Linked DNA regions of Homo sapiens: regions 2 and 3 are each linked to region 1. Evidence: promoter capture Hi-C in 16 types of primary human blood cells and fetal thymus (Javierre and others, 2016). All regions are on one chromosome and are shown on one strand. The core of a region is centred on a gene start or on the middle of the fragment in contact, and the rest is flanking DNA. Distances in the headings are between cores, read along the strand shown.

Region 1 (2,758 bases), core at 137-2,636:
TGATGATATGTTTCAGTAAGTTTTCAACTAAATACTGATGCTGACAGGTCTGTAATTTCTAAAGTTATCTGTTTTTTAATCTTCCCAGAGTAGAAACAAGAAACACACCAAGATAAGTACTGCATTTAGTCTTTTTAATATAGCAGAATGTCTAAGTCCTTTTTAAGTTCATAGATGTTGAGCTAATTGTTCTTTATTGACTTTGGCAAACTCTTGGAAAAATAATTAAGTCACCAGAATTTGCAGTTCAAAATGTGACCAGTTTATAACATTAGCCTTGTAGTCGAACCTTTATATCACACCCTGTATCGTCTCCAAATACCATATCATAACTGCCCTATATTTTAAGCTTTCAAACAAGATTTCTGAAACCTACAGTTTGAATACTGGCTAAGCACTGCAGTTATTTATATAATTTATGGTCATTTTTATATATGAAAATTCATTGATTAAAGTTGTAAGATTTAATTTATTATATTAAAATGCATTTCTGCTATTGAATTCCTTTATGCAAAAAAATCAACATTGTCTTTAGTAGTATATCACTGAACCCCTTATATATAAAAACCCCAGTTTGGAACAAAGAGCTATTAGATGACCAAATAAGAATCAAATTAGACTCTGCAATTAGAGTCTGCGAAGAGAAAGACTTTACTTATTTGAAATAGTATATAGCTTACTATATGTAAAATAAAATAAAATTATCTCAGAAGCTGTGGTCTCCTATAATTTGTAGAAGATGATAACTGATATCGCTAAGCACTTTTTGGTTGCAAATAACTATACTTAAATACTGCTAATAAAAGCTGACATCCGCTGATCACTTGCTTCATACCAAGCACTATCCTAAGTTCTTTATGAGCGTGATTTCATTTATTTTGTTCATCTCACAACAGTATAGTTAGAACATACTATTATCATCCCAATTTTCAAGTGAGGAAACTAATGTTTGGATATATTAAATAATGCATCTAATGTCATATACTAGTGTTTGAGTAGGAATTTGAAGCCATTTGGTTTGAATCTGGACTCTATGTTCATGATCATTATCCAAAATTCTCAGGTGTCCCAACCCCTCACAAATGACTTTGAATTAAATATTAGGTTTATTTTTATATGTATGGAACCTGACGCACAGTGATAATTAAAGTGTAGCTCAGCCATAGAGTGAGCCATTGGTCACTATGGGTCTTTGGGTTAAAACATACCTTTAAGAATATGTAGGAAAAAAATGATAATAGCTAACTCAGCAGCATTCATTAATTCATCTGCAGCAGATTAACTTGTTCCAAAATAATGAGATAATCTGATTCTGATGGAACATGGAGCAGACAAATTCTTCTAGAACCCGACCTGTTTCTATGTGGGTGTATCCAGGAAGTCAGGATTATTTGGAGAAATCTGGCAGGTCTCTAGGCAGACAAAAGGGAACATCTGGTAGGGACTGGGACATGTAGAAAAAAGGTAAGATTTTCCTAAGAAAAACCACTTCTTTCATAATTTTTTCTACACATACATGCTTCTCTTTGATAGTTTCTGACAGGACACTATTTTGCCTCTCTCTCCCTATTTCTTTTAAGTAATATACATTAAATTAGCATAGAATCACAGCATCATCAACAAATTCAGGCTAGCGCTTAGTGACAGACACTGCTGCTAGAATCTCTAGTTATTCATTTGTTTTTCTAACTAAGAAACAATTTAATCTGGGGCAGCAATGTGCCCAGAGAAAAAATAGTTAATCTCTCAGACTCAAAACACGTAAGTTTGGCTATATATTATATTTTTGGACACTGAAAGATAGTCAGGGACTTCTGGGGAAGAAATTTAACAAAAACAGCATCACCCAAAGAAAGCATCTGGGCAATTCTCCTTTCTTCCTTCGTTCCATTGAGTCAGGTCAGAGAGGACTCGCCAGGGACAAAGCCATGACCCTCAGGGACCCAAGGGCATGAGCCTGCAGCTGACAGCCCCATTCTGAATAAGCATTCAGGCACACAGACCAGGGTGGTTGTTGCAAACCCCTCAGCAGCTGCCTCCTGGCACAACCACCCACTAACATGTGATCTAGCAGACAAATGGAAGCTCTTCTTACCCCACTTCTTAGGCACTCCAACAAGGGTTCTGAATTCTAAAAACAGCAAAAAACATTCAAATTGTTACATATGAAATGCTTTCCTGCACCTTTCTATCTCAGAGATGACAGCTGTCCCTCCTCCACTCTCTCCCCACTCGCCCCCAGACACCTCCCTAAACAATTTCTGTGCCAAGATGAAGAGGATGTCCCAGGCCATGGGGCTTCTGGCCTTGAAGGGCTGCTGCAGTGGAGCCAGGGCACAGGGTAGGTGAGACACAGCAGAGGTTCTGGCCCAGGTCCCTGGCCTCTCCTCCTGCAGGTGGCGTTTATTTATTCAAGGGGAGCAACCATGTTCATTTTCCCAACAATGTGGCACCATATTTTGCTTTCCTCTCCACTTCCTTCTTCCTTGCAGCCTTCTCCCACTGTTTCCAGATGATCACCAGCCAGGCAAGGCCCACCTTGGCTTGCTCTGTCTCTCCTGCTAGTGCATTTTCTCCTTAAAAGCTCCTTTAGCCTGTCCAGATCCACTTGTTTGACCTTTCTGGTTGTCTATCCTACCTGCTTGGGGTTCTTGATGTTGATGAGTCCTTCCATGCCTTTGTGCTTTTGCTGGTAGTCATTTTCTTCATTTTCATTCTCTCATAAGTCTAGATTTCTTCCCCTTTTTGGGGTAAGCCC
Region 2 (2,758 bases), core at 139-2,638, 500 kb after region 1:
GCCAACTCAGCACCACTGAGATCTCAGAACCTCTGCTTTCTTGTCATTCTCCCCAAAGAACAGGAGCTCTAACTCCCAAGTGTTTGCCTATGCTGTTCTTTCTACCACAAATGCTCTTCCACCTACTCTGTTTGTCTACTTCCAACTCTCTTTTAACATTCTGCCCACATTCTGCTTCCCCAAGAATTCTTCCTGAACCAGCTCTTCCCTGACACAGAATTAATCACTCCCTAATAGCACTTTAGTGTAACTGTATTTAAACTTAACACCCTGTTTAGAGTTATTTACCTGTCTTCCTCTCTTAGGTGAAATTGTATCTTTTTTATAACCACCACTCCCTGGCACTAATAGAGTACCCATTACTTGGTACATGCTCAGTAAATATTTGAATTTATTGTATGTACAATTTCTCCTAGCCTGAAAAGTCAGGCCTGTGATGGATTGATTTGGGTAGCAATGGTAGGAACAAAGACTAGCTTTCACTAATAACTTGCTGATCAGGCAGCTGAGGGGCAGAGGGTTTATGGAAGCTTCCAAAGACCATACTGCTAGGAAATAACAAAATTGGGACTGGAAACAAGAAAGCATAACTTCAGAGATGCTGCCGTATTAGACACCTTTTTTTTCACCAAAATTGCTGACTTGGTGGACACCACTAGCACAGGTTTCTATCCAAAACAACCCTTTGACTACCATCGAATTCCACTTTGCAGCTCGGCCTCAGGTTTCTTGGAGGATGAGGATTAAAAGGGTTCTATCAACCCATCTCCCCAATTTTCCAGCATATAAACACAGTAATGATTGAAAGGAGAACTGTTTATAAACTTTCATTTATATTCCTGGGAAACATACTTCAAGTAAAACAAATACTACCCAGTTTCTTAGCTCTTTTAACTTTTTATCTTTCTTCATTGTATTGCATATTGCAGTTGAGAAGTCAAAACAGGTTAATTCCCTTCAAGGAGATGCTAAGCCTTTAAGTGGCTTTTGCTAACTGACATAGACGAGACTTGAGATTGATACACAGTAGGAACTCTGGTTATCTTTTCTTCAGCAGGAATTTAGCAATGCCTTTCCTCAGTAGCACTAATGAAGTTCAGCTATGGTTTGAAACTGCTCTGGGTACCTGAGCAGGCCTTTTTTTTAAGATTGCACTGCTCACTCTTTATAAAGAACGTTCTTTATGGTAAAAAAAAAATTCTGCTTCCCAAACCCAGGTGATTAGATTACTGCAAATAGTGGTATTAATTTTATGGTGGGAAATCCAATAGAAAATGAGTGAAAACACACAAAACAGTAGTATAAATAATGGTTCTTAATTGAAGGTGAGCAACAGAGTAACCCAGGAATATGTTTTCAAAATATGTAACAATGCAGCTATCTCCTGTTTTCTTTAGATTCTCAGTACACCTGGGATATCACCAGGTATTGAAATTTTTTTTTTCTGAAAGTTTTTGAAGTAATGATGACATACTATACTGGATTATAAATGTAAGTGATAGTCTCAAATCATGTTACTAGCCTTATACTGCTGTGAGATTTTCTCCTCTCATATCAAAGTCCATACAGTATCAGTGTCTGACATGCAAATTCAGCTTTCCAGTCAGGCTTGGGTCACACAAAATAGGAACTTACATCTTATTGTAAAGTATCCTTCCGCTTCTGGAATTAGAGAAGTCTTTAGCCAATCTTTCTTCTAATGGTGTTTCAAACTAGTTTTAGAAACTTAAACCATTTTTCCCCAAATAAAAGTAGCCCTAACTGTAAAATAGATGAAAGAGAAGACTGGATGAAGTCGAAGCTGCGTTAACTGTCTCTCACCTCCTCTGCCGCTTGAGTGACTCCTTGGTTGCTTTAGGGCTCTGTGGAACACAGATTTCAATACTGGTAGGTAGTCTCATCATATCATATCATATCATTTCATGGGTAAGGAAACTGCCTTGGAAACCAGTGTTAGAACCAGGGAGTCTTCATTGCTGGTCTGATGTACTTGGCATTGTTGTATTTATTTAATTCTGCCAAGAGAGGGCATTAAAAGATATGGTAGGCTGTCATTGTTGTCATTAGCATTTTGATCAACAATATGCCATCCCTAAACTCAGATTTATGACACTGCTAGAATAAATAGAAAAATACATGTAAAATTAAATTAGTTTTATTATTGCATTAAAGAAACCATTTGATTTTGTCAGTTGGGAAAAATCTAATAAAATCAGATGTTACATTAATTAAGTAGAGTCATATAATGAAGCTTCAAAATTGTAAAATTGGATCTGGATAAGGCCCTGTAGAGGAGGCGATATGTTATCTCATCATATAAAGTCTCATTGTGGCTTCTCTTTTATACATTCAACTGCAAAATATCTTATTTGTGCCAAAAAAGACTGAGGGAAATTACAAAGGGAAATGATGGTAAAGAAAACTGAGCCATTTAACTCAACATTATCTTCTTACTTTAGTAACCACTACACTTGCTGTAAAAACTTCGAAAGAGGGTCTGAATCAATTCGTTACTAATGAATCAATTTGTTACTTGCATATTTCATTTTAAATACACCTATTTACTAGTGAAATCATAGAATGTGCTTATTTACGTGCATTTAATTTAGGTTAAATAACTAAGCCATACAATACTGTGGTCATATTTTGTTTGGAAAAGGAAAAAAAAATAGTTAGTGTTAATCTCTACTGCCAGTCCTCCCACAAAAGGCTAAAAAGTTGCCTTACTTTGTGCATCTGGCAGAATACAGACTATTGC
Region 3 (2,758 bases), core at 188-2,687, 340 kb before region 1:
ATGAAACACTAGAATAAAACAACATGTGTTCAGCAACACTGAAAGATCCCTTATCGGGGTCTGGATAAGAAAAGTAGAAAACAGGATGATATTTTCACCACACAGGTAAATTGAAAATACATATATCCACAAAACATATTACATATTTTAAAAAGCTATATTCAAGGGCATGCATCAAGCAAATTATCTTTGAGATGAGGGGAATAAGAATAGTGTTCATGAAAGAAAGACAAAAATAAAAGGATGATTGGCAGAGATTAATGACGGCAATGTGTTTTTTAGTTTTAAAATATGATTAACTCAGTGATTTGAAACTGAGCTCCAAAAGAAAAATAACTAAAAGGGAAAAAAAGAATGAAAGGAAGAAAAAAGCCACCTAATATCTATCTGCTGCTTAAAGTTCTGAACATTTTATTTAATATTTTAAAATGGACATATGGAGCATTTTAACCAATGGGTACACAGTAAGGAGAAGGAAATCTCCTCTAATGTTTCTAAATGTAAAATTCTTTGTCATTACTTATTCTTGCAACAATTATTTACTGTTGCAATTGTTTATTACTCCACCAAGACCCTTATATCATATATATATACCCTTATATGTATATAATGATTAATGCTTGTCTCTCCTGCTTATTGTTCTATGTGTGCTTTCCATCAGAAGATTCATTCTATTCATCCTAGAATATTCTCAGTCTTAACTCTTTGGGTAATTGTTTGTTTACTTCTTTCTCAATTTCATTTCTCATGTATTCCTATTAGAGATGAATTAGATCTATCTAGTCTGGGCAACATGGTGAAACTCTGTCTCTACAAAAAAAAAAAAAAATTAGCAGGGTGCAGTGGTGCATGCCTGTATTCCCAACTACTTGGGAGGCTGAGGTGAAAGGATGACTTGAGCCTAGGTGGTTGAGATTGCAGTGATCTGCAAACCTGGGCTACAGATCAAGACCCTGTCTCAAAATAAATAAACAAAAGAAAGAGGGAAGAAAGAGAGAGAAGGAAAGAAACAAAGAGAGAGAGAAGGAAAGAAAGAGAGAGAGAGAAGGAAAGAAAGAGAGAAGGAAAGAAAAAGAGAGAGAAGAGAGAGAAAGAAAGAAAAAAAGAAAGAAAGGGGAAGGGGGAAGGAAGGAAGGAAGGGAGGGAGGGAAAAAAGGAAGGAAGAATGGAGGGAAGGAAAGAAGACAAGGAAGGAAAAATGTTAGATTTCTCTAAATGTATCATTGGGCTCTGATCGTCTTTGTGTTTTTGCTCTTAAGTTTACTATGTCTTACATGTTTGTTGTGCATTTATTATGATAAGCAAATATTTGAATTCATTCTTTGGCTATGTCTCTTTTCAACCTAAACAATCTCTTTTTAAATTTTGTTGATTTTAATATTACATTTTTAATATCTAACATTTGAAACTAGTTCTGTTTAATGTCATCCTGCTCTGGTGTTTCCTAGTGTTCTCTTATGCCTTTGATAATCTGCAATATAGTCATTTTAGGTCACCTTAGATCTATCATTTTATATTGTATCTGAAGTGACAACTTCTTGAATTTTGATTTTGTTACCTATTGTTCTTAGCAATCATTTCCCATTTGTGTTGGAATTTGGGTTTGCAGGCACATCTATAGTGGCATTTGTTCTCTGTCTCTCTCTCTCTTGTGCTCACGTTTCTCTTGACTGTAGTTTTGAGTGTCTCAATTTGGATATTATAGTTCCTTACATATAACCAGATGTGATAGTGTCAGCGCTTTAATCTTCGGAGGATTATTGGGGATATCTCAGGTCACAGCATGGTTTAGTAAGCAGGTTCATACTAGTCTTCAGTGGGAAGATTTTTTAATTTTTTTCCCACATCTTTAGGTGTCCCTCTTTGTGGAAGTCATTTCCTTGGGAATAATTACAGCCTTTCTTTGCCCCCTTTATTTGGCGGGCCTGGATTCAGTGTCCACCCCTATGAACCATTTTTAGTCTCGGTTACTCCCTATCTACTCTGCCTGCCACTGGAGACAAAGTCTAATAAATCTAAAGTTTAGATCCTATTTTCTATTTTTACATCTAATTTCATTTCTGGTTCCCTAGATGTTTATCTTGTTTTGGGGTATTTCTATGTTTTTTTTTTTAATTTTTTCTTTCCAGATTGTCTGTATAATCAATATTTCTCTGACGTACAGAGCCTATCTCAAAGAGTTAACTGGTTTCCTTATCTTCTTTTTCATTAAAAACAAAAAAATAAGTAAGTGTAAGACGTAGGGAGATTCGTGTAAAGTCAGTTAAAATAAATTATTTTCTCCAATGAAGCCTTAGCATGTGTAAGTATATTCAAGTCCCCAAGTGATGTTTCAAAAATTACTTTCCTAAACTCATGCAAATTATTTTTAATCTGCTAGTTGCTAGTCAAGATTTTTAAAGTTTAAAATGACAAAATTATAGCTTTTAGAAGACTTAAGCCACTTTTTTTCTTTTGATGACACACCAGCAAAGCATAATTGCAAATAATATTGCTTAATAGACAGACTTATTTTAGTAGCTTAGTCAAACTTATTTTAGTGGATCTATTTTGTAAAAATAAAACTTGACGAATAAATGTGCTCTAACTGAGTCATTAATTCAGACCATTCTCTTTATTGGAAAGTGTAATTTTACACCAACTGTTGGCAACATATAAAATTTTGAAATTGCATTAAAAATAACATAGTACTTATAATTTCACAGGAGTATTTTGGTCACTGAGAGATAAATCTATGTTAATATTAATGAGATACACT

The links. Contacts are between HindIII fragments. The CHiCAGO score rates a contact against its expected background, and 5 or more counts as called.
Region 2: a contact is called between a fragment that was not itself captured here and the fragment with the promoter of XIRP2 in region 1, in 1 of 17 cell types (neutrophils). The highest score is 5.3, in neutrophils.
Region 3: a contact is called between a fragment that was not itself captured here and the fragment with the promoter of XIRP2 in region 1, in 1 of 17 cell types (fetal thymus). The highest score is 6.0, in fetal thymus.

What each region holds. Positions count from the first base shown.
Region 1 is chr2:166,887,094-166,889,851 of GRCh38, forward strand. It overlaps XIRP2 (xin actin binding repeat containing 2), which reads left to right and starts at 1,387. Exons shown (of 11, transcript NM_152381.6): 1 at 1,387-1,464. The HindIII fragment of the contact is 3,763 bases long and covers 348-2,758 here.
Region 2 is chr2:167,385,114-167,387,871 of GRCh38, forward strand. The region is part of intron 1 of B3GALT1 (beta-1,3-galactosyltransferase 1); the gene reads left to right. Among named protein-coding and RNA genes, the nearest start is that of B3GALT1, 93 kb to the left of the region's middle. The HindIII fragment of the contact is 1,721 bases long and covers 529-2,249 here.
Region 3 is chr2:166,542,405-166,545,162 of GRCh38, forward strand. The region is part of intron 1 of LOC124906087 (a long non-coding RNA gene); the gene reads left to right. Among named protein-coding and RNA genes, the nearest start is that of SCN7A, 50 kb to the left of the region's middle. The HindIII fragment of the contact is 7,882 bases long and covers 1-2,758 here.